5 separate regions of the Homo sapiens genome follow, and all the other regions are linked to region 1. Evidence: promoter capture Hi-C in 16 types of primary human blood cells and fetal thymus (Javierre and others, 2016). All regions are on one chromosome and are shown on one strand. Each heading gives the region's core, a stretch centred on a gene start or on the middle of the fragment in contact. The rest is flanking DNA. Distances are from core to core; before and after follow the strand shown.

Region 1 (3,835 bases), core at 679-3,178:
CCAGTCCCCGCCCCTCCTCTAGGTGCCCACCATCCCTCCACAAACCACAGCTATTGTCATGGTAATAATTCCATTATTAGAAGGAGCTTTATGCTCAGCGGACCAGAGCTCCCTGAGAGCAGGGATTGTGGTATTATTTCAAGCACTGAATTTGTTCTAGTAATCCTTAAATAAACATATGTTGAATGAATGAATGCAGTAACAGGAATGTTGAGCCAAGTTTTGTTTTTGTTTTTTGAGACGGAGTCTCGCTCTGTTGCCCAGGCTGGAGTGCAGTGGCTCGGTCTTGGCTCACTGCAAGCTCCGCCTCCCGAGTTCAGCCATTCTTCTGCCTCAGCCTCCCGAGTAGCTGGGACTACAGGCGCCCGCCACCACGCCCGGTAATTTTTTGTATTTTTAGTAGAGCCGGGGTTTCACCATGTTAGCCAGGATGGTCTCGATCTCCTGACCCCGTGATCCGCCCGCCTCGGTCTCCCAAAGTGCTGGGATTACAGGCGTGAGCCACCGCTCCCGGCCTGTTGAGCCAAGTATTAAACCACATAAAACACAGGAGGAGAGGAAAGTATTCAGAGATACGACAGGGAGAACTATTTGAAACAGTGGGACCACAGACCATGTGAACTGTGCAGAGAGGCCTAAATAGCCTGGGGTTTCTGGAGGGAAGGGAGGTTCCTGGGTGGTGGAGCACTGGTGCACAGAAAAGGAGATGAATCCTGAGAGAGAGGTTCCTCACTGTGAAGGGTCTGGTGTTGGGGCCAAAGGTTTGGGGTTTCCACCTGTCCAGCATGGCTTTTCAAACTGTAGGGTTTTTTTTTTTTGAGTGGGGGGCAGGGGGTGTCTCACTTTGTTGCCCAGGCTGGTCTCAAATTCGTGGGCTCAGGCAATCCTCCCACCTCGCCCTCCCAAAGTGCTGGGATGATAGGCGTGAGCCACTAAGCCCAGCAGTAGGTTGCAATTAAATCATGCACTTATGGCCCTCAAAATCCGTCTAGGAGCTGCCACAGGTTCGGCGCTGTAAAAGTAAATATGCCCACTTAGAAAATGGGGATAATTCCTATGTCACAGAGTTGTAAAGATTAAATGAATTAATACAGATTAACACACTGGGAACAGTGTCAAGTGCATAAGCATTATGTAAACTTTAGCTATTATTTGCTATTATTGTGTTTGCTGTTATTTCTCTCTAGGAGCTCCCAGGGGGCTAAGAAGTGGTGGGAAAGAAAGAAATGATTCTAAGAGCATCCAATAAGGGCTAGAATGGAAGTGAGCAAAAAATGCTGAGGCCCACAGCACAGGTTGTACTGCGGGGTTCAAATCCCATGAGGCCAGCAGCACCCAGGGTCTGTGAGCCCTCCAGAGTTGGGCCCTGGTGGTCGAGTCCAGTCCTGGGGGTCATTGCATTCCCTCCCTCATTATAAAATGGGGCCTGGAGGCCCGGGGCGGAAGAAAGGGGTCCACAATACTGCACGGTTAGAGGCCGAGCCAAGGCTGGATCCGGCCAGACCTCCACAGGTCTTCCTTAGCCTCCACATTGCCTCAGAGTGTGGGGCGCCCGGCTGGGGGCGAGGTAGCGGAGGCCCAAAGGGGGCCGAAGCTAACTGGACGGCAGCTCGCGATGGGAACTACGCTTCCCAGCATGCGACGGGGCAAAGGGGCCTTTCAGCCGCGAGCAGCGCCTCGCAGGTTCTGCTGGGAGTTTTCATTGACCTCTGCTCCCCCTCTCATTTTGATCCCCGCTCTTCTGCTCTGGGCTCCGCCCCCTTCTGAGAGCCGATGACCTGGCAGAGTCCCGCGAGCCGCTTTCTTCTTCCCCTCTCATTGGCCCAGCCTAGCTGCCATTCGGTTGAGAGGAGGAGAAGTTGCTTACTGATTGGTGGATTCCGTTTGGCGCCAACTAGGAAAGGGGGGCGGGGCAGCAGCTGGCCCCACTGAGCCGCTATTACCGCGAAAGGCCGGCCTGGCTGCGACAGCCTGGGTAAGAGGTGTAGGTCGGCTTGGTTTTCTGCTACCCGGAGCTGGGCAAGCGGGTGGGAGAACAGCGAAGACAGCGTGAGCCTGGGCCGTTGCCTCGAGGCTCTCGCCCGGCTTCTCTTGCCGACCCGCCACGTTTGTTTGGATTTAATCTTCAGGTTGCCGGCGCCCGCCCGCCCGCTGGCCTCGCGGTGTGAGAGGGAAGCACCCGTGCCTGTGGCTGGTGGCTGGCGCCTGGAGGGTCCGCACACCCGCCCGGCCGCGCCGCTTGCCCGCGGCAGCCGCGTCCCTGAACCGCGGAGTCGTGTTTGTGTTTGACCCGCGGGCGCCGGTGGCGCGCGGCCGAGGCCGGTGTCGGCGGGGCGGGGCGGTCGCGGCGGAGGCAGAGGAAGAGGGAGCGGGAGCTCTGCGAGGCCGGGCGCCGCCATGGAACTGGGCCCGGAGCCCCCGCACCGCCGCCGCCTGCTCTTCGCCTGCAGCCCCCCTCCCGCGTCGCAGCCCGTCGTGAAGGCGCTATTTGGCGCTTCAGCCGCCGGGGGACTGTCGCCTGTCACCAACCTGACCGTCACTATGGACCAGCTGCAGGGTCTGGGCAGGTAAGGAGAGACCGGCGGGCGGTGCTCCGGGCCCCTGGCCTCGGTGTCGGCCTCGGAGAGATCAGGCCAGGAAACGGACCGGGAGAAGGGCGAGACCCGTCCGTCCGGGTTCGCCGCTCGGGGACAGCCGGGCTAGGGCCTGCCATGTGCACCCCCGCCCGGGCGGAATGTTGGGCGGGAGAGGCCGTCGGGACCTTCCAGGGGAAGAGGTGGAGATCCTTGGGCCTAAGCCCGAGCCAGGCCCACCTTCACCCCTTTCGGATTGCTCCGTACTCTCCTTCTATCTCTATCCCTGGAAGCTCTTTGGAATCTACCCCCGCGGGGAAAATCAGGCTCTTCTAGGCACTCACTTTCACCCTTTGCTAAACCATCCTCAGGATCTTCGTTTGCTGTGATCTTTGTTCCTTCTCAACAAAGGACCATGGCATTTTCTTTCCTGGCGTTTATGTAAAATCATCTCAGTCCCTCGCCCTGTGCACATTCCTGATGTCCACTCTGCTGCTTTCCTAAGGCCAGGTCTTTTTACCCAACTTTCAGAAAGCTTCCTGGGCTTTTCCTGATAGCAAAAAATGCATCCCACGGTGTTTCCCGCGGAAGAGCTACTTTCCCTTCAATCTCTGGCATCCCGTTTGCTAAGCACATGTCTTGTGCGTTTCCCAACTTCTGAAAAGCAGAAAGTGTCCTGTTCAACTTTCATCCCGACTCTGTCTCAGTACTTAGAACACATGCTTTTATTTTAGGAAATACCCCAACATTTGCCATAGCCATCATAACCTGCAATGTGGTCCAAGGCCATGCCCACCCACTCCTTTTTTCTCCTTTGCCCAAGTGCTAATTGGGTGTTCAGAGTGGCAAAGTGGGATCTTTGCCACTTGTGGTGTGGCCTAGAAATGGTTTCTGGCAGCCTGGCTGCTTCTTAATCTCATGGCCTATCTCCTGCATGTGACCTTTTAATTATATCCTATAAATCATTCATGGTTTATTTCTGTTGGTTTCAGTGATTATGAGCAACCACTGGAGGTGAAGAACAACAGTAATCTGCAGAGAATGGGCTCCTCCGAGTCAACAGATTCAGGTATTTAAGTCTGCTGTGTGGGGAGCAATACTCTGAATTTCCTGAAACATGCCTTTTCACCCAGGAGGTTAGTTTTGGTGAGAACTTGAGGAAGTCATGGCATTGGGTGATAAACTTTTTTTTTTTTTTTTTTGAGACAGAGTTTCGCTCTTGTCGCCCAGGCTGGAGTGCAATGGCATGATCTCAGCTCACT
Region 2 (2,905 bases), core at 1-2,500, 280 kb before region 1:
GGAGGAAGATCCTTGGTACCCCTGCTCTCTCCAAGGCTGGGACTAGTGTTCCTGGTTGTGGCCAGGTGTGCAGTGGTTGTGACAGCAGATGGTCTTGGCTTGGTCCTAGCAGAGGCTGTGACCCCATACATGGGCCTGATGGTGCCGAAAGGCCTGGCGTGAGCATCCACCCACCGCAGCAGGGCCTGTGGTCTCCACTGACAGATGCTGAGCAGGGCCAGGACATCACCCTCAGCCGTGTGCGAGTCTGGAGGGGACTGCCCATACAGGCGAGTGTAGATGCTGCCTAGGCTATAGCTCTTCCTTGGGCCGTGTTCTGAGGGGCTGCTTGCTCGCTCCAGGGCCTTCAGCGCAGTGATGCTATCCACACAGAAGGCACCATCCAGAGCACTGGTGAGGCCCAGCATAGCCAGCTCTGCTTGGAGCAGGGGGAAGTCGTAGCGGTCACCATTGTGTGCCACCAGGCACCAGGGCTGTGGCTGGCGCCGCAGGAAGGCTAGGAGCAGGTTGGCCAGGTTGTCATCAAAACATTGACGCCCATGCGCTGCCAGCACAGCTGTGCTCAGACCTGTGATCTCGCTGGCTGCAGGGCTGCAGGCCTTCCCCGGAGCCACACACAGGGAGAGCTTGTCTACCACACGCGGTGGTGGAGGAACTGTGGGAGGTGGCCCCTGAGAGGTGGGGGGGCTCTCCAGGGCACATCTGTGGACAGCCAGCAGGCACAGCTCCGTGACCTTGGGCTGGGAGAAGGGCAAGCCAGTGGCCTCCATGTCGAAAAAGATGAGGGTCTGCATGGGCCCCGGGGGCAGGGCCTGCGAGCCCATGGTTGGGTACGTACCTGCTGCTGAGCCTGGAGAGGAGCATGGGGTGGGTGTGTGAGTGCCCAGTGTTAAGATCCGAAGGGGAGGGAGTGGGGTAGGGGGTGGGCAGAAGCACATCTCAGGCCTTCCCTGCACAATCCTGCCCTGTCTGCGAGCTCCAGGGCCCATTTTCAGGCAGGAAGTTGGAGAGGGTGAGGTGGTTTCCTTAGTGGGACCAGCACATTCGACTGTCTGAGAGGGTCTCCCTCTTCACATGACTCGGCCCCTCCCCTAGTGCCCCCTTAGTCTGGGGTGGGGGAACCCATGGCCCTCCTGCCCTGCGCCATCCCATTGTGGGGGCCACACTCACCGTAGCAGGCAGGCAGGCAGGCAGTAGTGACTCGGCTGCACACTCTCCCGCGGCTCTCGCTGGCAGCAGTGGCGGGAAGTGAAACTTGGCGTGGGCCCGCCTACAGGCCCACGTGAGCCAGGCCCGCCCTGCTCGTCAGCCTGCCTGGTCTGTCCCTCTCACCACCATCCGTTCCCCCCCACACCCACTCCCCTGCTCCCGGGGGACCCCAGAGGCCTTCCAAGATCCACAGCTGTGGCCTGCTGGTGGCACAATGCACCGGGGCCATCATACCAGTGACAGGCAGCTGGAAGGACCAGGGCAGTGGTGCCAGACCAGCTCCCGGTCTTACACACTGCTGGGAGCCCCTGCTGCGGCCCTTTCATGCCCACCTGTGGGTCCCAGTTTCCCAGGCTTTCCTGGTTTAGGCCTGGGCCAAGAGCCACCTCCTTCCCTGCCACACAATGGTTTCTTCCCATGGCCCCAGCCCAAAGCAATGACTCAGGACAATTCCACAGGCAGGGCAGGGCTCCTTCCTCAAGGCAGATCAGTTACCATGGGGACGGGCTCAGCAACAGCCAGGGACAGGAAGAAGGATCCCAGCCACTCAGGGTCCGGGTCCTGCTCCACCCCTCCCACTCCGCCAAACAGATCAGACTCAGGAAACAAGGCCAGCCAGTTCTCTGGGCAGTTCCTGCTGGTCACTGCTTTAATCAGTTGATGTGGTAAGGAAAGGAGTGGTGCTGGTGCCACCATGTGGCTGGACACTCAGGGCCTCAGCCACACTCCACCTCGGGGTCTTCCACATCGGTTTCCGCGGCACAGAGGTCATCCAGGGCTGCCTCTGAGACAAAAAGGAGAGGTTCCTGGTGAGGGCCCAAAGGTGCCAGGGCCTAGGGCAGGTCCCACCTCTCCTCCCCCAACGTCCGCAGGAACTAACCAGTCCCTTCCACACCCAGGCCCTGCTCCCTCAGCTACTGCAAACAAAGTGATACAAAGGCAATTCAGACACGGCTATTTCTGGAAAAACCGTGGCTCTGCCAGGCACACTCAACAGATAGATGCAAAAGGCATCCCAATATGCTTGGAGAAGAACTGAGGCAGGAAGATAAAAGAAAATGGCCCCAGTGCTGGAACAGGCTGCAGTGGGCGGGGGCCTGCTGAGGGGACACCCAGGAATCTGACTTGTTGGGGAACCTCTGGAAGAAGCCATGGGGGCTGGGCAGGATGGCCTCTGGCAGGCTTACCTTCACAGTCCGTCACATCAGGAAGCCCTCGGATGAGCATGCTGACCCCCGGCATCACCTGGTCAAACTGATGCAGGACCTCCACGCAGTGCATCATGAAGAGCTTGTCCTTCTGCGATAGGCCGTGCAGCAGCAGCACCGTGTCCCGCAGACAGCGCACTGTCCGCCTCTGCTGGTCGGTCCTTGGGGGTCCCCCTGCCCTCCGCACTGTCAGCCACTGTCTGTGCAACATCACCGTGAGCGCTCTGACCACCTGAGAGAGGGGGGGTGCAGACTGAGGCCTGGTGCCACCATGGCCTGCACCCTAACAATCCGCTCAGCCTAGCCACCTCACGTGAGGGGGTTTGCAGTGGGGCCTACAGTCCTTGCACGGGGCCCCCTTACCACCAGAGCTGCCAGCTGTTGGCCCCTACCCACTCACCTCCACATTACACTGGCAGTTGGAGCCAGTGACTGGGGGCAAGGGGCTCTGCACACCAAGCTTAGCCAGGAGCCACACCACCTAGAAC
Region 3 (4,063 bases), core at 1,413-3,912, 470 kb before region 1:
GGAGTTTGATACCAGCCTGGCCAACATGGTGAAGCCCCATCACATGGTGAAGCCCCATCACACCACTTCACTCCAGCCTGGGTGACAGAGTGAAACTCCATCTCAAAAAAAAAAAAAAAAAAAAAAAATGAGGTTAAACCACATAGGGGTCTTATTAGGAGGCAAGGGCAAGATTTGGAGGTGGAGAGAAGAACTACCACCACTATCACTAACATCTGGTTTTTGTTTTTTTTTTTTTACCGGGAGTGCATTAGGAGCTGCCAATGGGGCTGGGGCATAGAGGTGAGTGCAGATTGAGGGAGAGGGGCTCCACAGAACAGCCACAAAGGGAGGATGACAGTGGGATGACACACAGCAGGCAGCAACATGGAGAGTGATCCGCAATCAATCTCACTACTCAGAAGTGAGGAGCTTTGCTCTCCAAAAGGAGTGTTAGCTGGGACCAGCGCCAGCCCTATTGGTGAGAGGGCAGGGCTTGATTTCCCTCAGCCATAGTCCCTTTATGTCTCTGCACATTTGCCCACACAGTCTCCAAGACCTAGGATGCCCACCCCCAATCCCTATCCCTCCCTGCCCTTCCTTTGCAGATGCGGATCTCCCCTTGGTCATTCAAGGCACTGCTCAGGCATCTTATGCAAGAAGGCGTCCCAGGTTGCGAAGGTGACTCAGACGCCTCCTTTGGGACTCCAACACCCTTCCCCGGCAGAGCCCCTGCCTGTCTGCCTCCGTGGTGTCAGGTTTTGTGCCCTCTACTCACTAGATTGTGGACACAGAAAGCGCTGGTGCTGTCAAAACCACTTCTGGGTTGCCGGGCGCGGTGGCTCACACCTATAATCCCAGCACTTTGGGAGGCCAAGATGGGCGGATTGCTTGAGCCCAGGAGTTCAAGACTAATCTGGCCTACATGGTGAGACCCTGTCTCTATAAAAAATGCAAAAATTAGCCAAGTGTGATGACATGTACCCGTAGTCCCAGCTACTCGGGAGGCTGAGGTGAGAGAATCGCCTGGGGAGTTCGAGGCTACGGTGAGCTGTGATCACCACTGCACTCCGAAAGAGTGAGACCTTGTCTCTAAATAGATAAATAAAACTACTTTGGGGGACTCGCTCCTCCAGCCCCTGCACCGATTGGCTCCCATTCAAAGGAGTTCAGCCCTAAGTGCCTCTGCAGATCTTCCACCCCCACTCACAAACCCGTAGGAACCCCGGCCGTGTATCAGGCCCAGAGCTCTGATCCTGGGGAGGTCCTCAGATTCGTAGACAGGAGAGGGAACAACTGGACACCTGTTGCCTGACCTTGGTAGCCACAAGGGGCGCTCGGGAGGTGGAACCCGCAGAAGCCCCGCCTCCCGGAAGCGGAGCAGTCAAGGGGCGAAAGGATGCGCCGACTGATTGGTTGATGGTGATGTCATAGGGACCGTTCGGGGCGGGCCAGAGGCCTTGGCCAGGAGTTCCTCGCCTGTTAGAACCAGGATCCACCCCATCGCGGGAGCCGCACCCTGTGGAGCGTTCTGGGGTCCCGGCCCTGACCTCTTCCTGGGCTTCGGGATGCCCGCGTCCTCTGCACCCGGCGCTGCAGCTCGTTATCGATTCCGCCTTTGGAGGCCGGTCCGTATAGTGTACCTCCCGGACTCTCTCACGGTTAGCCGGCAACCCGCGGAGCCCCCTCCCCCATGCGATGAGTCCGCCGTGAGGGGCGGGGCCTCCCATTGTGCCAATAGAAACAATGACTGACCGATTGGAGTGCTCCGCGTTCACCCCTCGCCTCCGCTCCTCTCGTGACGTCTGTTGCGCCAGGTCCACCCATTGGCCTGGCGAGACCGGCGCGTGCCAGGAGTTACGCAGGGAGAGCTGGAATGCACCGAGGGTGGGGGGAGGACTGAGTTTCTGTGTCAGTCCCTTCAAGGGGTTAAGGCATGCGGTCGTGACGGACGAGGGGCGGGGACCCGAAGAAGCGGGGCCCGCAGCCATGGGGCAACGCCGGGCTCCACGTGGCATCCCAGAGCACTCGGGACTCGCAGCCTGGGAGGGGGTGCAGCCTCCAGTGAAGGGGCCCCGAGCCCGGGAGACTGCTGGGGACCAGCAAGGCAGGGAAGAATTTGGCCTCTGCTCCCGCCTCGGGAGGGTCATCTCTGGTCCCTGCTCCGCAGGGGCGATCCAAACAAGCAGGTGGTCGCGACATGTTTCATAAAACTAGCTGATGGGATAGTTAAAGCTATTGTTCGGGGTGCTGGCACCCCAGACCCCTCTCCAGCCATCGTCCCCTCTACCCCAGGATTTCACACAGTACCCCCTCCCAGAGCTATGAGAACGCTCATGGGCACCAAAATTTCAGACCAAAATCCGGGACACGGTTCAGAACTAGTGGTCAGGAAGGGGGAACAAGAGATCTGGAAGGACAGAAAAAGGCTGGGAGACGGAGCTGGGACAGCGCCCTAGAAGGAGGGAGGTGGGTGAAGGCGGCGACCGAAAGTGGGGAGGGCGGACCCAACGACGGCGAACCTTCGCGCTCTGTTCAGCACCAGGAGCAACGCTCACGTCCTCAATAAAGATGGCGGCAACATCTTCGGTCCTCAGAGCTGCCATGCGCGATGGGTTGTACCACCGTGTTTCGGGCGCCGGGGCAGAGGTGGAGCGAACCATCGGGGCGGCCGGGAGCCATGTTGGAGCGGCGGGAGGCGGCAGCAGCGTCGGGGATGCTGTGGTGGGGGCGGAAAAAGCCAGGGCCGCACGCCGGAGGGGCTCCGGCCGCGGAGTAGATGGTGCCCAGAGGGCGGCGGGGGTGCGGAGAGACAGGCGGAGGGGCGGGGGCCCGGGGCGGCGGCAGGGGCCCGGGAGGGGGCCCGAGCGGCGGGGCCAGCCCAAGGCCCGGACCGGGGCGGGGGGCGGTGGAGGCCGTGCAGGGAGGCGGGGGATGATGGCGAGGCGGCCGCCGTGGCGGGGCCTCGGGGGACGGTCGACCCCCATACTCCTGCTCCTTCTCCTCTCTTTGTTCCCCCTCAGCCAGGAGGAGCTGGGGGGCGGTGGGCACCAGGGCTGGGACCCAGGCTTAGCTGCCACTACGGGGCCAAGGGCGCATATCGGTGGCGGAGCCTTAGCTCTTTGTCCGGAGTCTTCCGGGGTCCGGGAGGATGGGGGGCCTGGCCTGGGGGTCAGGGAGCCTATCTTCGTGGGGCTCCGAGGGAGAAGGCAAAGCGCCCGGAATAGTCGAGGGCCCCCTGAGCAGCCGAATGAGGAGCTGGGGATTGAACACGGCGTCCAGCCATTGGGCAGCCGCGAACGAGAGACAGGACAGGGACCAGGGTCTGTGTTATACTGGCGCCCAGAGGTCTCCTCTTGCGGGCGGACAGGACCTTTGCAAAGAGGTAGTCTGTCACCAGGGGCTCTGTCCTCAGGGGTCCCGGGCTCGGGGAACAGCTCGCCCCTCCCTTCAGACTTTTTGATTCGGCACCACGGTCCCAAGCCGGTGTCCTCCCAGCGGAACGCTGGGACAGGCTCCCGCAAAAGAGTGGGCACCGCGCGCTGCTGTGGGGAATTATGGGCAACAGGGAGCAAGGGTCAGGGCGAGAGAGCCACGACATCCGGAGCAGAAAGGACAGCCCCCCGGCGGAACTGTCTTCCAGGGGCCTCGGGATCTGGCCCCGAGCTGGATTCAGCACCACGCACGGCGAGGACAGCTCCTGCATCAGGTTCAGCACCCCGCGAGTCTCGGACAGCTCCCGAGCCGGCGCCCAAGCGCATGCGCTCCCGGGGTCTCTTCCGCTGCCGCTTCCTCCCGCAGCGCCCCGGGCCGCGTCCCCCGGGACTCCCGGCCCGTCCTGAAGCCAGGAAAGTAACCTCGGCGAACCGGGCACGCTTTCGTCGCGCCGCAAACCGCCACCCGCAGTTTCCGCAGTACAACTACCAGACGCTGGTGCCGGAGAATGAGGCAGCAGGCACCGCGGTGCTACGCGTGGTTGCTCAGGACCCGGACGCCGGCGAGGCCGGGCGCCTAGTCTACTCGCTGGCGGCACTCATGAACAGCCGCTCGCTGGAGCTGTTCAGCATCGACCCGCAGAGCGGCC
Region 4 (3,654 bases), core at 388-2,887, 320 kb before region 1:
TGTGAGCCACTGCACCAGGCCTTGTTTTTCTATTTTTGAGACAGGGTCTTGCTCTGTTGCCCAGACTGGAGTGCAGTGGCACAATCATAACTGCAACCTTCATCTCCTGGGCTCAAATGATCCTCCCACCTCAGCCTCCCAAGTAGCTGAGACCACAGGTGCTTGCTACCATACCCAGCTAATTTTAAAATTTTCTGTAGATATGGGGTCTCCTTATGTTGCCCAGGCTTAGAACAACTCTTAGGAGCTTGGCTGGGGGGCAGGGACTGGAAAACCAAGGAACAAGAAACCAAGCTTGTGGATGGTGCAGAGTGGAATGAGCAACCTTTAGGGAGGCAGAGGGCTGGGCACCCAGGGTGTGGAACACAGGATGGCTCTAGAGCTGGACATGAGGAGCATACACTGGCCATTCTGCAGAAGGGGGACCTAGGCTGCACCCAGCTTTGGAGAGTGGCGCTCAGGAGGCAGAGGTGGGATAACCAGGCTGGGCTGTCAGGGAGGATGTGACTCCAGTCCCTCACTAAGACCCTCCCAGAGGGCATCCTGCCTGGGAACTGTCATATCCCTGCCCCCCACATGTGTATTGAGCACGGTGAGTCTTAAGCCCTTCTTGGCCAGGAGGTGATGGGGGCTTATTGGAGACCCAGGCCTTCCTCTCCCTGTTCTAACACCCTAGCCTGGGAAACTACTGGGAACATCCCAGATTGTCCCCTTGGGTTTCTCTTTGTCCACAGCGATGCCCCCACCTTTAGGTGAGAAATATATGGTGGCACACAGGGTGCACAACCCAGCCTGGGTGCCCCACTAGTGTGACATTTCACGTTTTCTGTCTTGAGTGAAATGTTCTGATTGTGCTAGGTGCAGAGTGGGGGTGGGTCAGGAACTCTGGGCATAAAAGGAAGAATGACTCAACATCCCTGATTCTGCCTGGACCCCTGCCCCGAAGTGAGGGGGCGGAGCCCTGTGTGGGAAGTTGGCCTGGCTGTGTGCCCTGGGAGCTGCCAGTTTCTAGCTCAGTCCTGGCCCACTGCGCCAGCGCTGAGCCTGCCAGGGCTGGGGCTGGGGATCACCTTGGGATGATGGTGTCAGTCCCAGGGGGCAGGAGATCGAGTGTCCTCTGAGCTGGCGACTGGGCCTGTAGAAGGGAACCGGCATTTGTGGAGTGTCTACTGAGTGCCAAGGTCTGCGCTGGGCACTGTCCTCGCACCGCCTCACCTAGTCCTCACGTAGCCCTCGGGCAAGTGAGGATCCGCCGGGACTGCGGCTGGGAGGGATGGCTGTGGCTGTCCCCCAGCCCACACAGTAGGCGCTCAGTGTCAGGGTGCATATTCCCGGGGACGCCCTCCAGGCCTGAGAGCTGGGGGCCGCCGCCGCCCCCCATGCATCCGGTGAGCAGAAGGAAACTCCGTGCGTCGCCCGGCGCCTGTCCGAGTCTGGGAACCGGTACCAAGTTTTCGCGCAGACCCCGGGCGCGAAGCTGGCCCCGAGGCTGGGAAGTCGTCCGCTTCCTTCCTTCCTCCTCCTTCCACCTTCCTCCCTCCTCCCTCCTCCCTCCTCCTCCCTCCTCCTCCTCCTGCTCCCCCGGACAGAGGTTCCGGGAACCAGCCGGGCCGGGGCGGGGCGGGGCGAGGGAGAGGGGCGGCCGCGCGGATCACTGAGGCTGTGGCGGCACTGCGCCCGGCGCTCGCGTCCGTCCGCCCGTCCGCCCGCCCAGCCATGACTGCGCCGGTCCCCGCGCCGCGGATCCTGTTGCCGTTGCTGTTGCTGCTGCTGCTAACGCCGCCTCCGGGTGGTGAGCCGGGGGTGGGGGCGGCCCGTCCTGCCCTGGGACCGGGCAGACACTTCCCCGCGCTGCCTCTCCAACGAGCCGGGCAGCACCAGCCCCACTATGCCCCCCACTGACCCCTGATTGCCCCGAGGCCGTCAGCGAACCCCCACGACTGCGGACCCCTCCTCCACCCCAGCACCCTCCTTGCCTGAACAACCCTGCCTAGACACCAGGCAGCTGCCACCTTTGTCTGTCCTGGAACGGTGGGGAGGGGTCTGCCCTCCCGCCCATGTTCCAGGGGATGGAGTCCCCAGAGGCTAGGGTAGGGTTCCCTGCCTGGCTTTAGTCTGGCGGGTGGCTGCAGGGCGAGCTGGCCCCTCCATCAGAGGCCTTCCCTCTTTGCCTCTGTTTAATGTCTGGGAGCCCCCACCGCTGCCTCCGTTGGCCCTTGTGTTCCTGTAGAGCCCGGCGCTGAGGCTGGCCTCTGGGGTGGAGACACCACTGTGTGTGTTGGTTGCAGATAGGTGATTCACAGAGTCTGGAAGGCTGGCTGGGGGCGGGTCCTTTAAAGGGTTAGGAATTGGAACAATCCCCTGCCCACCCATGGGAAGCCAAAGACCCTTTTGGGGTGGGTGGCTTCGTGGAGGGGAAGGCTGTATTTCCTGGGGGCTGGGATGAATCCAGAGGACCTGGGCTAGAGAAATGAGAAAGGGGAGACTTGTGCCCAGAATCCGCCCACTCCTGGAGTGAGCCTGTAGGAGGGTCGGTCACTGATTCAGTGAGGTCTGGGGGTCAGAGAGCATTTGTGCCATGGACTCAGCCTAAACAGCCTCACCGGTGTGTCTTCAGCCCTAGCTCAGAGGCTCAGATTGGGCTGTGAAGACCTTGCTGCATATGGGTTCACCTGAGCCACCAGGCACGGGCCATGCTGATGATACCAGCTTTCAGGTGGGCAGCTGGCCAAACTGGGCTTGTCAATGGTCCAATCCTCTGCTCCATGGCTTTGCCCAGAGCAGGGTTCTGCCTGGAGCTGCCAAGAAGTGCAGTTCCCCCCAACTCCCCACTAAAGTTCCCTCTTCCCAAGGAGGTCACTTGGTGTCTCTGTCTCTGGGCTTCACTCTACTGACAGCCTCGGGGTGTGTGGTGTCCTGATCAGGCCCGGGCACCAGATGCTGCACATGGCCAGGTGCCTGGCCTGGCTGGGTCTCCAGAGGCCACGTGCTATGGCAGACTGTTTCCAGGCCGATGTAGTTATGCCTCAGGGCTATCATCAGACCTGTCCCCTGCCTACTGCGGACTTGTGGGCCTTGCTGGACTAGGTATTCTCTTTGGAGTCTGCCCTGGCAGAATCCGGTACTGTTCCTTCCTGTTAGTGGGCACAGGTCTCTGCTAATGTAGCCTGAGGATACATGGGAACATTTGACTGTAGCATCTTCCTGGAGGTTTGTAAACCTTGTGGTCATCCAAAAACCTGGGTTATTTTCCACATTTGTTGTCAGCCAGATCCCCTCAGCATGACCTCGTTTATTGAGACTTGTAAGGATGTCAGTAGATCCCAACTCTGTGCTGAGAGTCTTGTGATGGCTCCAGGGCTACAGATGGTGCCACTGCCTTGGAGCCCTGTTGCCCAGGCTGGTCTCAAACTCCTGGAAGGCACAGACATTTCCTGGACACCTGCTGCAGGCCCAGCGCGGGGCTAAGTGCTTTATGAACGCTGGTATGGTGGGTGTGACAATTTCTGACCAGGATCTAGCCTGCCATCATGGTTATGGGGTGGTCTGTGAGAGCCAGGCCCCTGCAGTTGTGGTGCCCAGCAGGGGCTGAGGTTGCTGTGGTTGAGTGAGGGAGAGAGTGAACGAGGATTAAGAACTAGACAGTCTGGCTGG
Region 5 (3,590 bases), core at 34-2,533, 360 kb after region 1:
GCCTGGTGGCAGGCGCCTGTAGTCCCAGCTACTTGGGAGGCTGAAGCAGGAGAATCGCTTGAACCCGGGAGGCGGAGGTTGTAGTGAGGCAAGATCGCGCCACTGCAATCCAGCCTGGGCAACAAGAGTGAAACTCCATCTCAAAAAAAAAAAAAAAAAAGAAAGAAAACCTCTACATCTGAGCAGGCATGAATTACTCCTCCCCCAAGTTCTCTGGAATCAAGGGGAAAATTGATGCATCAGATACCATGAGAGGTACCTCGCTTCTTTTTCTTGTTTTTTGGATTAATCTCAGAGCAGAAAGGGAAGAGATATCTACCTAGGGTAAGCTTGTACCAGACACAAGGCTTAACCAGGTCATGAAGAGGTCTGCTAGGAACATGGGGGGCCATATCATTCTCCACTCTAGCCTCTGGCAGCTCCAAAAGGAGCTGTATATATGCACATGTGCACCTGCGTGTACACTGATCACCTGGGGAGCTTTTTCACCGCATGGACATCCAGCTCCCCACAGGGGACCTGAGAATGGGAGCGATGTTGGAGGCGACTCTATATTTTCAAAAAGTGCTTCCAAGCGTTCTGATGTAACTCTGCTGCCTGGTTTGAGACTGTTTCCTTGGGACAGACTCCTGTGTCAAGTGGCCAGGATGGAGGACACCTGATCCTGTCTCCCTCTAAGCGGTAACTTGTAAAGCAACTAAGAGTCAAGCAGTTAAGCAGTTAAGAAACCATATCTAAGTGGACTTGGCCGGGGCGGGGGGGGTTTCGTCACAGAGGGACCCAACTTCGAGTAGCCCATTACACCCACTGGTTTAACAATAGAGCTGCACTGAGACCACCACCCCGCCCCCACCTTCAGCTCTATAAGGTTGGTGGAGGCTGGCGCTCTCTACCCATCCTTGATGCTTTCAACAGTTTTATCCTCTGCACTATTTGGGAGGCACAAAGCTGGAATCCACCAGAACAGTCATTCTGTCTCTATTTGAGATCCTGATGTCCCAGGAGTTACTTTGGGCTATTTCTCACACTGGTGAGGGCATGCTTGTCCCTAGAAGCTCTAGCCCTTGGCCACTCATCCTGGCAGGAGTTGGACTTTTACTCGTTTTCCCCACTCCCTCGAGGTCTCGCACCTCTCACCTATTCTTGCCGGGAGCAGGTACTCTAAGGGTCCATTCGGGCCTGTGCCACGCTAAGCTTTACAAACAGCAAGGCCGCTGCCCGCCGACGGATGGCGAACTTGGCCACTATGGAAGAGAGGACCCCCGGCCGCCAGGCCCGATTTCGGCCCGCGCCCCTAGCTCTGCCATCCCAGGAGTCAAGGGCGCTGCGGACCGCCCGCCCCCGCCGATGCCCTCACCGTTCACCAAGCTTCCGTCGCCTTCCCCAGGCCCGCCGGGGGCCATCCCTGACTCGGCCTCGGCGGCTTCCTTGGTGTGGTCGGGGTGGGCGCAGCTTGAAGAGAAGCCGCGCGAGCGACCCTGTCGCCCAGCAGCGCGGGGACCCAGCGGCTGCAGGCGCGGAGAGATGCCGGCGGCCAGCGCCATGAGTCTCCTAGCGGCCGCCATCGTGCTCCCGCCGACCCCGAGGCCTGTGCGCGGCAGGGACCGGGCGAAGAGAACGGGAGCGGCCGGCCCGAGCGCCGCGCGCCCCCTGCGGGCCGGGCGGACCCGAAGCCCAAGCCTAGGCGAGGGCATCAGCAGCCCGTCCTCGCTCACCACAGCCCTGGGCCTTCAGTAGGCGGGCTCGGCGCTGCCCAGGGCTAGGACCCTGCAGAGCTCACTCTCCAGCAAATCTAAACCAGCAGTCGTGTGGATGGAAGGCAGGAAGATGGAATGAGGCTGTTGGGGGGAAAATAATGCTAGGCCTTAGCTCAATGTCATCTAAGGAAGCGAAGTTAGTTCCCTCTAGGTCCTACCAATTGTTCCTAACTACCTCTCACGTGCCTCTGGCAAATTGGCAGCCCCATCTTATTTAACGGCTTACAAAGTAAACCTGGTGAAGATCTGGAGCCAGGGCCAGGCGCCGTGGCTCATGCCTGCAATCCCAACACTTTGGGAGGTTGAGGCGGATGGATCCCCTGAGCCCAGGATTTTGAGACCAGTCTGGGCAGCATAGTGAAACCCCAACTCTATTAAAAGTTTAAAAAACGAAAAAGAAAATCTGGAGCCAGGCCAAGGAAGACCTCTTCAGGAAACAGATTTAATCCCCAGGGCTGGAGGGGAAGGTGAAAACACCCAGCTTTGGAAACTGCCAAGAATTGAGCTGGTCCAGCGTAAAGTCCAGCAGTGAAAGTGCTGTTCCTCGCCAGGCGCAGTGGCTCACGCCTGTAATCCCAGCACTTTCGGAAGCCGAGGCAGGCAGATCACCTGAGGTCAGGAGTTCGAGACCAGCCTGGCCAACATGGTGAAACCCCATCTCTACTAAAAATACAAAAATTAGCCGGGCATAGTGTCGCGCGCCTGTAATCCCAGCTACTCGGGAGGCTGAGGCAGGAGAATCGCTTGAACCCAGGAGGCGGAGGTTGCAGTAAGCCAAGATCATGCCACTGCACTTCAGCCTGGGTGACAGAGCAAGGCTCCATCTCAAAAAAAAAAAAAAAAAAAAAAAAGGAAAAGAAAATGGTATCTGAAAGCTGAAGGAGACAACAGTCTAGACAGAAAGGCCCCACCTGGACAGCAGGACCCAAGCCCTTTGTGGCACTTGAGGAAGCCCTCAGGATAGCACTCTTTTCTGACAGCCATTTGGCATAAGGCTGAAATGCCATGATTTCTTAGTTGCCTCTAAAGAAGCCAAAATGAAGAGCTATACACAAAGCAACACTGGCCATGAGTTGTTAATTGTTGAAGCTGGGTGACAGGTACTTGCAGGTTCATTATACTATTTTTTCTAGTTTACAACACATGTGTTGAACAGATGTTTAGATTTTTATGTTAAAAAAAAATCAGCCAGGCGCAGTGGCTCATGCCTGTAATCCCAGCACTCTGGGAGGCTGAGGCAGGCGGATCATGAGGTCAGGGTATCAAGACCATCCTGGTCAACATGGTGAAACCCCATCTCTACTAAAAATACAAAAATTAGCTGGGCATGGTGGCACGCGCCTGTAGTCCCAGCTACTTGGGAGGCTGAGGCAGGAGAATTGCTTGAACCCGGGAGGCGGAGGTTGCAGTGAGCCGAGATTGCGCCACTGCACTCCAGCCTGGCAACAGAGTGAGACTCCGTCTCAAAAAGACAAAAAAAAAAAAAAAAACAACAACCAGGGATGCCAACCAACTAGTTTGTTCCCAGGGGGGTCTTTGTCTCGGTTTGGTTGTGTCCCCACCCAAATCTCATCTTGAATTGTAGCCCCCATAATTCCCATGTGTCATGGGAGGGACGTGGTTGGGAGGTCATTGAATCATGGGGGTGGTTTCTCCCATATTGTTCTCATAGTAGTGAGTAAGTCTCAAGAGATCTGATAGATTAATAAGGGGAAACCCCTTTCTTTTCTTTCTTTTCTTTTTTTTTTTTTTTTTGAGATGGAGTCTCGCTCTGTTGCCCAGGCTGGAGTGCAGTGGTGCAATCTCGGCTCACTGCAAGCTCCACCTCCCAGG

Evidence for each region. The method cuts DNA at HindIII sites, captures the fragments that hold promoters and counts their contacts. A CHiCAGO score of 5 or more calls a contact.
Region 2: the fragment with the promoter of TREX1 here is called in contact with the fragment with the promoter of CDC25A in region 1 in 17 of 17 cell types (megakaryocytes, endothelial precursors, erythroblasts and 14 more); the score reaches 13.3 in megakaryocytes.
Region 3: the fragment with the promoter of CELSR3 here is called in contact with the fragment with the promoter of CDC25A in region 1 in 1 of 17 cell types (neutrophils); the score reaches 5.8 in neutrophils.
Region 4: the fragment with the promoter of SHISA5 here is called in contact with the fragment with the promoter of CDC25A in region 1 in 5 of 17 cell types (M2 macrophages, neutrophils, endothelial precursors and 2 more); the score reaches 8.4 in M2 macrophages.
Region 5: a fragment that was not itself captured here is called in contact with the fragment with the promoter of CDC25A in region 1 in 2 of 17 cell types (megakaryocytes and endothelial precursors); the score reaches 7.4 in megakaryocytes.

The regions. Positions count from the first base shown.
Region 1 is chr3:48,186,510-48,190,344 of GRCh38, reverse strand. CDC25A (cell division cycle 25A) reads left to right here and starts at 1,928. Exons shown (of 15, transcript NM_001789.3): 1 at 1,928-2,567; 2 at 3,566-3,642. The coding sequence starts at 2,398. RefSeq lists a silencer at 2,262-2,471 and an enhancer at 2,215-2,843. The HindIII fragment of the contact is 7,442 bases long and covers 1-3,110 here.
Region 2 is chr3:48,464,575-48,467,479 of GRCh38, reverse strand. It overlaps TREX1 (three prime repair exonuclease 1), which reads right to left and starts at 1,250. Exons shown (of 2, transcript NM_033629.6): 1 at 1,171-1,250; 2 at 1-850. The coding sequence starts at 824. ATRIP (ATR interacting protein) reads right to left here. Exons shown (of 13, transcript NM_130384.3): 11 at 2,818-2,898; 12 at 2,397-2,649; 13 at 1-1,993. The coding sequence ends at 1,926. ATRIP-TREX1 (ATRIP-TREX1 readthrough) reads right to left here. Exons shown (of 15, transcript NR_153405.1): 12 at 2,818-2,898; 13 at 2,397-2,649; 14 at 1,171-1,993; 15 at 1-850. RefSeq lists enhancers at 1-440, 655-854, 441-1,322, 1,935-2,024. The HindIII fragment of the contact is 3,980 bases long and covers 1-2,879 here.
Region 3 is chr3:48,661,485-48,665,547 of GRCh38, reverse strand. It overlaps CELSR3 (cadherin EGF LAG seven-pass G-type receptor 3), which reads left to right and starts at 2,662. Exons shown (of 35, transcript NM_001407.3): 1 at 2,662-4,063. The coding sequence starts at 2,914. It overlaps LINC02585 (long intergenic non-protein coding RNA 2585), which reads right to left and starts at 1,780. Exons shown (of 3, transcript NR_111921.1): 1 at 1,735-1,780. RefSeq lists enhancers at 256-840, 1,337-1,696, 2,011-2,596, 2,467-2,656, 3,768-4,063 and 1 more. The HindIII fragment of the contact is 11,755 bases long and covers 1-4,063 here.
Region 4 is chr3:48,502,157-48,505,810 of GRCh38, reverse strand. SHISA5 (shisa family member 5) reads left to right here and starts at 1,637. Exons shown (of 6, transcript NM_016479.6): 1 at 1,637-1,792. The coding sequence starts at 1,717. RefSeq lists an enhancer at 552-1,105 and silencers at 1,443-1,922, 1,933-1,982. The HindIII fragment of the contact is 7,520 bases long and covers 297-3,654 here.
Region 5 is chr3:47,823,015-47,826,604 of GRCh38, reverse strand. All of the region lies in intron 4 of DHX30 (DExH-box helicase 30), which reads right to left. Among named protein-coding and RNA genes, the nearest start is that of DHX30, 22 kb to the right of the region's middle. RefSeq lists a silencer at 1,510-1,799. The HindIII fragment of the contact is 174 bases long and covers 1,197-1,370 here.